Regions from separate parts of the Homo sapiens genome. Here region 1 is linked to region 2. Evidence: promoter capture Hi-C in 16 types of primary human blood cells and fetal thymus (Javierre and others, 2016). All regions are on one chromosome and are shown on one strand. The core of a region is centred on a gene start or on the middle of the fragment in contact, and the rest is flanking DNA. Distances in the headings are between cores, read along the strand shown.

Evidence for each region. Contacts are between HindIII fragments. The CHiCAGO score rates a contact against its expected background, and 5 or more counts as called.
Region 1: a fragment that was not itself captured here is called in contact with the fragment with the promoter of USP22 in region 2 in 1 of 17 cell types (naive B cells); the score reaches 5.7 in naive B cells.

What each region holds. Positions count from the first base shown.
Region 1 is chr17:20,149,278-20,152,735 of GRCh38, forward strand. All of the region lies in intron 3 of SPECC1 (sperm antigen with calponin homology and coiled-coil domains 1), which reads left to right. Among named protein-coding and RNA genes, the nearest start is that of SPECC1, 140 kb to the left of the region's middle. The HindIII fragment of the contact is 3,769 bases long and covers 312-3,458 here.
Region 2 is chr17:21,041,254-21,044,748 of GRCh38, forward strand. It overlaps USP22 (ubiquitin specific peptidase 22), which reads right to left and starts at 1,758. Exons shown (of 13, transcript NM_015276.2): 1 at 1,412-1,758. The coding sequence starts at 1,582. RefSeq lists a silencer at 1,444-2,043 and enhancers at 1,579-2,528, 2,529-3,476. The HindIII fragment of the contact is 4,087 bases long and covers 1-3,058 here.

The DNA of each region.
Region 1 (3,458 bases), core at 946-3,445, 890 kb before region 2:
TCTGGGACTGCTGTCCTTAGAAAGGCTGCTTCCAAGGTTGGCACTTGGCTCGTGTCAGGGAACTTGGATTTCGGAAGGGTTCCTGCCACCCTAATTGGTAAGAGTGGCTCACTGCATAAACTGTGCAAACACTGTAGTTTATGCTGAACTCCTGTTTTCCTTCCAGGAGCCTATGTGATCGCCTGGTAAAAACCCTGGATGCTAAGTCTCTAGTGAATTTCCCTGGCAGACATTTCACACGTGTTGTCACAGCTCATTGCTGGAAGAATTAAGCACACCCTGAATGACTACACTGGGGGGAAATTCATGGAAGCTTGCACCTAGTTTCCTCTGGACTTGGTCTTGTAGACCTTTTCCCTTTTCTTTGTATCCTTTTGCTGTCATATATCATAGCTCTGAGTGCAACTGTGTGCTGAGTCTTGTGAGTCCTTTCAGAGAATCACCAAACCTTGGGGTGGACTTGGGGACACAGGTTTAAATCCTGGCTCTGCTGCTTTCTAGCGGAGTAAACTTAGGCAAGTTACTCACCCTCTCAGTCATTTTCTAATCTTTAATTTGAGTTAAAAAAACAGTTTTGTTTTATAAATCGAAATATATAATGTACTTAGAATAGTGCCTGGCATGTAATTATTTCTCAACAAATGTTAAGAATTATCTTGCAAGCTAGATGTTTGTGTATATTTGTAACTATTTCTTTTCTTCTTTTTTTTTCTGAGATGGAGTCTCACTCTGTCTCCCAGGCTGGAGTGCAGAGGTGCGATCTCGGCTCACTGCAAGCTCCGCCTCCCGGGTTCACACCATTATCCTGCCTCAGCCTCCCGAGTAGCTGGGACTACAGGCGCCCGCCACCACGCCCGGCTAATTTTTTTGTATTTTTTTTTTAGTATAGTAGAGACAGGGTTTCACCGTTTTAGTCCGGATGGTCTCGATCTCCTGACCTGGTGATCTGCCCGCCTCAGCCTCCTAAAGTGCTGGGATTACAGGCGTGAGCCACTGTGCCCGGCCTTTTTTCTTTTTTTTTTTGGGACGGAGTCTCAGCTCATCACAACCTTTGCCTCACAGGTTCAAGTGATTTTTTCTGCCTCAGCCTCCCAAGTAGCTGGGATCATCCCTGCACTTTGGGAGGCCGAGGCGGGCAGATCACCTGAGGTCGGGAGTTCGAGACTAGCCTGACCAACATGGAGAAATCCCGTCTCTACTAAAAATACTAAATTAGCCAGGTGTGGTGGTGCATGCCTGTAATCCCAGCTACTCGGGAGGCTGAGGCAGGAGAATCGCTTGAACTCGGGAGGCGGAGGTTGCAGTGAGCCGAGATCGCACCACTGCACTCCAACCTGGGCAACGAGTGAAACTCTGTCTCAAAAAAAAAAAAAAGTGCTGGGATTACAGGTTTGAGCCACCGTGACTGGCCTGTAACTATTTCTTTCAAATAAATTTCTGTAAGAATAACTGCTGAGCTTAAGGATATGTACTTTTTTTAATGTGTTCTGGTCATAGTAGTAAAATATATTTATTAAGACAGATATTTGGTATAGAAAAAAAGTCTTTCCTAATTCTATATTTCAGATATAGTTATTTCTAATAATTTGCTATATACATGTCAAAATTTATTTCTACACATATTAATATGGACAGTAGAATATAGAAATTTTTAATAAAAATGGGACCACATATATATTATTTTATTGTTTATGCCTGTATATAAGGGATCTTTATATTCAGTGAAGTTCCATAAAAACCTTTTTGTCTTCCTTAAAACGCTTAGATTATAGGTGAAGTAAAAAATATGTAATTATAATGTCCAAGTTGTCAACTTAGTTATACCTTTACATTTGAAATTACACATTATAGAAATACAGTAATTTAGAAATTACAGACAGTCCCTGACTTATGATGGTTTGACTTAGGATTTTTTGACTTTGTGATGGTACAAAAGCTATACTGTACTTCAAATTTTGAATTTTGATCTTTTACCAGGCTAGTGATATGTGGAGCTACACTTTTTTGTGATGCTGGGCAGTGGTTGTGAGCCGCAGCTCCTAGTCAGCCCTGCAATCATGGGGGTAAACCTTCAACAGTACTGCGTTGTCAGCATTTTTTTGAATATTGTTTGCCAGCATTTTTGCATCCATCCTGTCTACAAAGCCCATCTCGACTTAGAATATTTTCAGTTTACAATGGGTTATTGGGACGTAACCCATCATAAGTTGAGGAGTGTCTGTACACTGTTGCTTTTTTTATAGTCATCACAGGCGTCTTTGACATGTCACCCTGTCACCATGATCATCAGAGCCACTTTTAAGGTTTACATCAGATACACAGCACATCAGCTTCACTTCCGCGTGTTGCTTGATTCCACTGGACTCTTTGATTCCACAGGAAATTTTATCCTGTTCATATAACATTCAGGCAGTTGGTTTTTCATTTGCCCAGGATGTGTGACTGCCACAACCTGACTGATCCCTGAACTGCTTTTTAAAATTATCCATGGCTGGGCATGGTGGCTCATGCCTGTAATCCCAGCACTTTGGGAGGCCAACTCAGGTGGATCACCTGAGGTCAGGAGTTCGAGACCAGCCTGACCAACATGGTGAAACCCTGTCTCTACTTAAAATAGAAAAATTAGCTGGGCATGGTGGCAGGCGCCTGTAATCCCAGCTACTTGGGAGGCTGAGGCAGGAGAATCGCTTGAACCCGGGAGGCTCTTGTCTTTGACATGCTAGTTCTGTGGGAGAAACCCCAGCTGGGCCTGGTGGCTCATGCCTGTAATCCCAGCTACTCGGGAGGCAGAGGGAGGTGGATCACTTGAGGTCAGGAGTTTGAGACCAGCCTGACCAACATGGTGAAACCCCATCTCTACAAAAATAAAAAAATTAGCCAGGCATGGTAGCATGCACCTGTAATCCCAGCTACTTGGGAGGCTGAGGCACGAAAATCACTTAAACCCAGGAGGCGGAGATTGCAGTGAGCTGAGATCACGCTATTGCACTCCAGCCTGGGCAACAGAGCAAAACTGTCTCAAAAAATAAAATAAAATAAAATAATACAAGCATTGACAGGTACAGAAGTACCATGAGGGAGACAGCATTGAATTCTGTCTGAGATGTGCAGGCAGACCAAAGGGGGGTGATAACAGAGCAAGAATTTAAAAGATGATATATATTACTCTGCTTCAGCTGCCATAACCAATTGCACAGACTGGATGGCTTAAACAGCAGAAATTTATTTCTCGGAGTGTTGGAGGCTGGAAGCCTGAGTTCAGAGTGCCAGCATGGCTGGGTTCTGGTGAGGAGTCTTCTTGGCTTATACATGCCACCATCTCACTGTGACCTCACATAACAGAAAGAGAGAGAGAGAAAGATCTCTTCCTCTTCTTTTTTTATTTTTATTTGTTTTATTTTGTTTTGTTTTTTGAGATGGAGTCTTGCTCTGTTGCCAGGCTGGAGTACAATGGTGCG
Region 2 (3,495 bases), core at 508-3,007:
CTGATTTTAGTTCATCCAGACATAACGCTACCTGATACCATTACAGATAAAAAAAATTTTGAGGCCGGGCACGGTGGCTCATGCCTGTAATCCCAACACTTTGGGAGGCAGAGGCGGGTGGATCACCTGAGATCAGGAGTTCCAGACCAGCCTGGCCAACATGGTGAAACCCCGTCTCTACTAAAAATACAAAAATTAGCCGGGCGTGGTAGCAGGAGCCTGTAATCCCAGCTACTCAGGAGGCTGAGGCAGGAGAATCGGCTGAACCCGGGAGGCGGAGATTGTAGTGAGCCGAAATCGCGCCACTGCACTCCAGCCTGGGGTACAAAGCGAGACTTCGTCTCAAAAAAATAATTTTTTTTTTGAATTACTGCTTAACATACCCTACAATCTCAGCGAGCCTGTTGGTATTCCCATAAATAAAAAAATGCCACTCAAGGTGGAAACTGCCCTCACAACTCCCAATCTCGGATTGTAATCTACAAAAGCGCGTGAAACTGTAAAAATAAACTTTATTCACATAGAAGAATCACGTTACGTTTTGATTTCCAAACCCTTACCAAGCCTAACTGCGGGACGCAAGACTGGGCTCCCCGAGGGGACTCACTCCTGGTTAAGGCCTCCCACAGCCCACGGCGCGCTTCCAAGTCTACTCCTCAGCCGCAACGCAAACCCGGGCTGTGGCTCCGCACCCACAGGCTCGCCCCGGCCCCAGCCCCTGCCGCCCTCCACCTCCAGCTCCTCGCGGGCCCCGAGGCAGCCGCGAAGCTCCGGCCCCGCGCCCCCCAGCCCGCCTCCTGCCCCAGCTCCCGTCCAAGGTCGCTCCTGGCGGCGGGTGACCGCTGCAGACCAACGCCCAGAACTCGACAGCCCCCCATCCTTTACTCATTTTTTTGAAATATTTCTTTCTCTGCACCCGCATCCAGCCCCGAACCCTCCAGAACCAGGAGAGTTCCCCGCAAGGACCTCGCGCAGGAACGCCCGGGACCGCCCACCGAAGTCCCAGGCTCCCCAGGCAGCAGGGCAGGAGAACACCACCCCCGGCCCGGAAGCACTCGCCCCTCCCGGGCCAAGAAGGATAAGGGAGGGGGAGGGCGGAGAGAAAGGAGGGGGAGGGGACAGAGAGGAGGGGGAGGGGACAGAGAGGAGGGGGAGGGAAAGGAAGAATGGGGGAAGGGGGGAGAGGGGAAGGATAGGAAGATGAGGAGATAAGGGAAGGGAGAGAGTTGAGGGGGGAAGGAAAGGAGGGGGAAGGGGTAAAGAGAAGAGAGGGCAGAAGGAGAGAGGAAGAGGAAGGACAGGGAAAGGCAACGGGGGAAGGGAAGAGGGCAGGAAAAGGGCCCCTCCGCCGGCCGGCCTCAGGAGCGGCAGAAGGCCCCGAGCCCGCCGCGCGGTGGGCTGCCGGGCGCACCTTGCGCTTGCGGGCCTCAGCCGTGCCGCTCCACACGAAGCACTGGTAGATGGCCCGCAGGTTCTGCTTCCAGTTGTCCACCTTGAAGCTGCCCAGGTGCGAGCAGCCCGGCGGCGCTACCGCCAGCTCGGCGTCCATGGCCTCGCCCTCGGGCTCTGGCCGGGACACCATGGGGGGCAAGGCCCGGCCGCGCGCGGGGGGCGGCGGCGAGGGAGGCGAGGACGACGCCAGCGCGGCGTGGGGGCTGCTCGGCGGCTGGCCAGGCTGGCCAAGGCCCGGGCGCCGAGAACAAAGCGCGGAGGCCGGACAAAGATGGGGCTGCGCGATCGCCGAGGGGAGGCTGCAAGGCAGGCACCGCCCCCGAGCTGCGGCTGCTGCGGACCGCCTGCGCTGCGCTCTCGCGGTTCGCGGAGGGTGTCGCGGGGCGGGGCGCCGCGGCCGCGGACGGAGATTACGTCACCCCCCCCCCCCCTCCCGGCCGGCACCGCACTGCGCAGTCTCCAGCCCGCGCCAGGCCCTTCCCCCACACTCGCGCGCCCGTTAGGCTCTGGGTAGACCCGCGCCCGAGGAAGCGTGGTAGGGGGGGGAAGCTAACGAGGGCCCGCCCCTCCCCTTCCTTTATTGGTAGTAGGCCACCCCCCCCCCCCCCCCGGCACCTTCGGCTATTGTCATAGGCTCTCAGTATAGTCCGTCTGGTACAGAGCCGCCTCCCGGGACCCTGGCGGCTAGACGTTCCCTGTCTCTTCCAGAGGACTGGGGAGGCGGGGGCGTGCTGCGGTTGGGCGGCGCGAGACGTCAGTCCTAGCACTGAACCGGTTTGCGCCGGCCTGAGCTCTGCCGCAAAGAGGCGGGGCGATGAGCTGGAGCGCCGCAGGTCGGGCCTCCATCCAGGGCCTGCGCTTTCCCACCCAAAAGCACCCCCTAATCGGGAGCTGTTTGCAGGGCCCCCGGTTGCCGTAACCTGGCTCGGGCCCTGCAGTGCCGTGGCCCGGGGCTGGAACTGCCTGCCAACTGCCTGGTAGGCGCTGCCCCCGGCCGCAAGCTGGGGCGCCTCCTGTCGGGAGCCCGCTGATAGTGAGGGCCAACCCGGCGCCATCCAGTTTAAAGAGGCATCTGCGCGCCACACGCCTGACACTTCACATTTGCTAGTGGCTACATTTTTCTAATGAAAAAAGAAAGTTACAGTAATATATCTCAACCCAATAAAGTCAAATTATTTCAGCATGTAGGCAGTATTGCAAAATCGTTAGTGGAATGTTTTACAGTTTTTGCAGCAAGTCTTGGAAATCTGGTATTTACACTTAAAGCACATCCAATTCCTACTAGCTGCTACCGCAGTGGGCGGCACAGGTCTAATCGGTATACAAATAACTGACCCAAGGCAAACTGAGAAGACATTTAAAGACGAATGCAAACGAAGTTCTGGGGGAACCAGGGCGCCAAGGGTCTGGGGGAACTTGGATAAGGTGTCAGGTGTGGAGCTGCTCCCCTGTACTCATCCCGCTGCTAACTGCTTTGCTCATTCATTCATCCACAGATTGCAGGAAACAGCAATTGCCGTCCAGAACCATCACAAGTTAAAAAATAAAGATTGTGATCTCACAACACTTAAAGCTACAGGGTTTAATGGACTGACGACTGGGATAAAGCTTTTGTGGCCAAGACAAATTGCCGAGCACAGGTTTTTGCCTCATGGCCTTCGTGCTTGCAGTACCCTCTCCCTAAAATGCTTTCCCTACCCCCTCACCCTCTGCATCCTTATATTCCATGTCTGATGCTCGCTCACCTCCTTCCAGCTTTATCACACACCTCCTTTTCCGTGAAAAGGAAAATTGCCACCCTAATGAAAATTGCAAGCCCCCCAAAATTCTCCATTCCCTTACCCTGCTTTGTTTTTCTCCAAAGAATTTATCACTATCTGGCGTAATGAATATTTACTTATTTTTTTTATTGTCTCTTCCCTTAATAGCATGAAAAATTACGAGAGGGTAATCTTTTTTTTTTATTTTTTATTTTTGAGACAGAGTCTCGCTCTGTTGCCCAAGGCTGGAGTACAGTGGTGCAATTTCGGCTCACTGAAACCT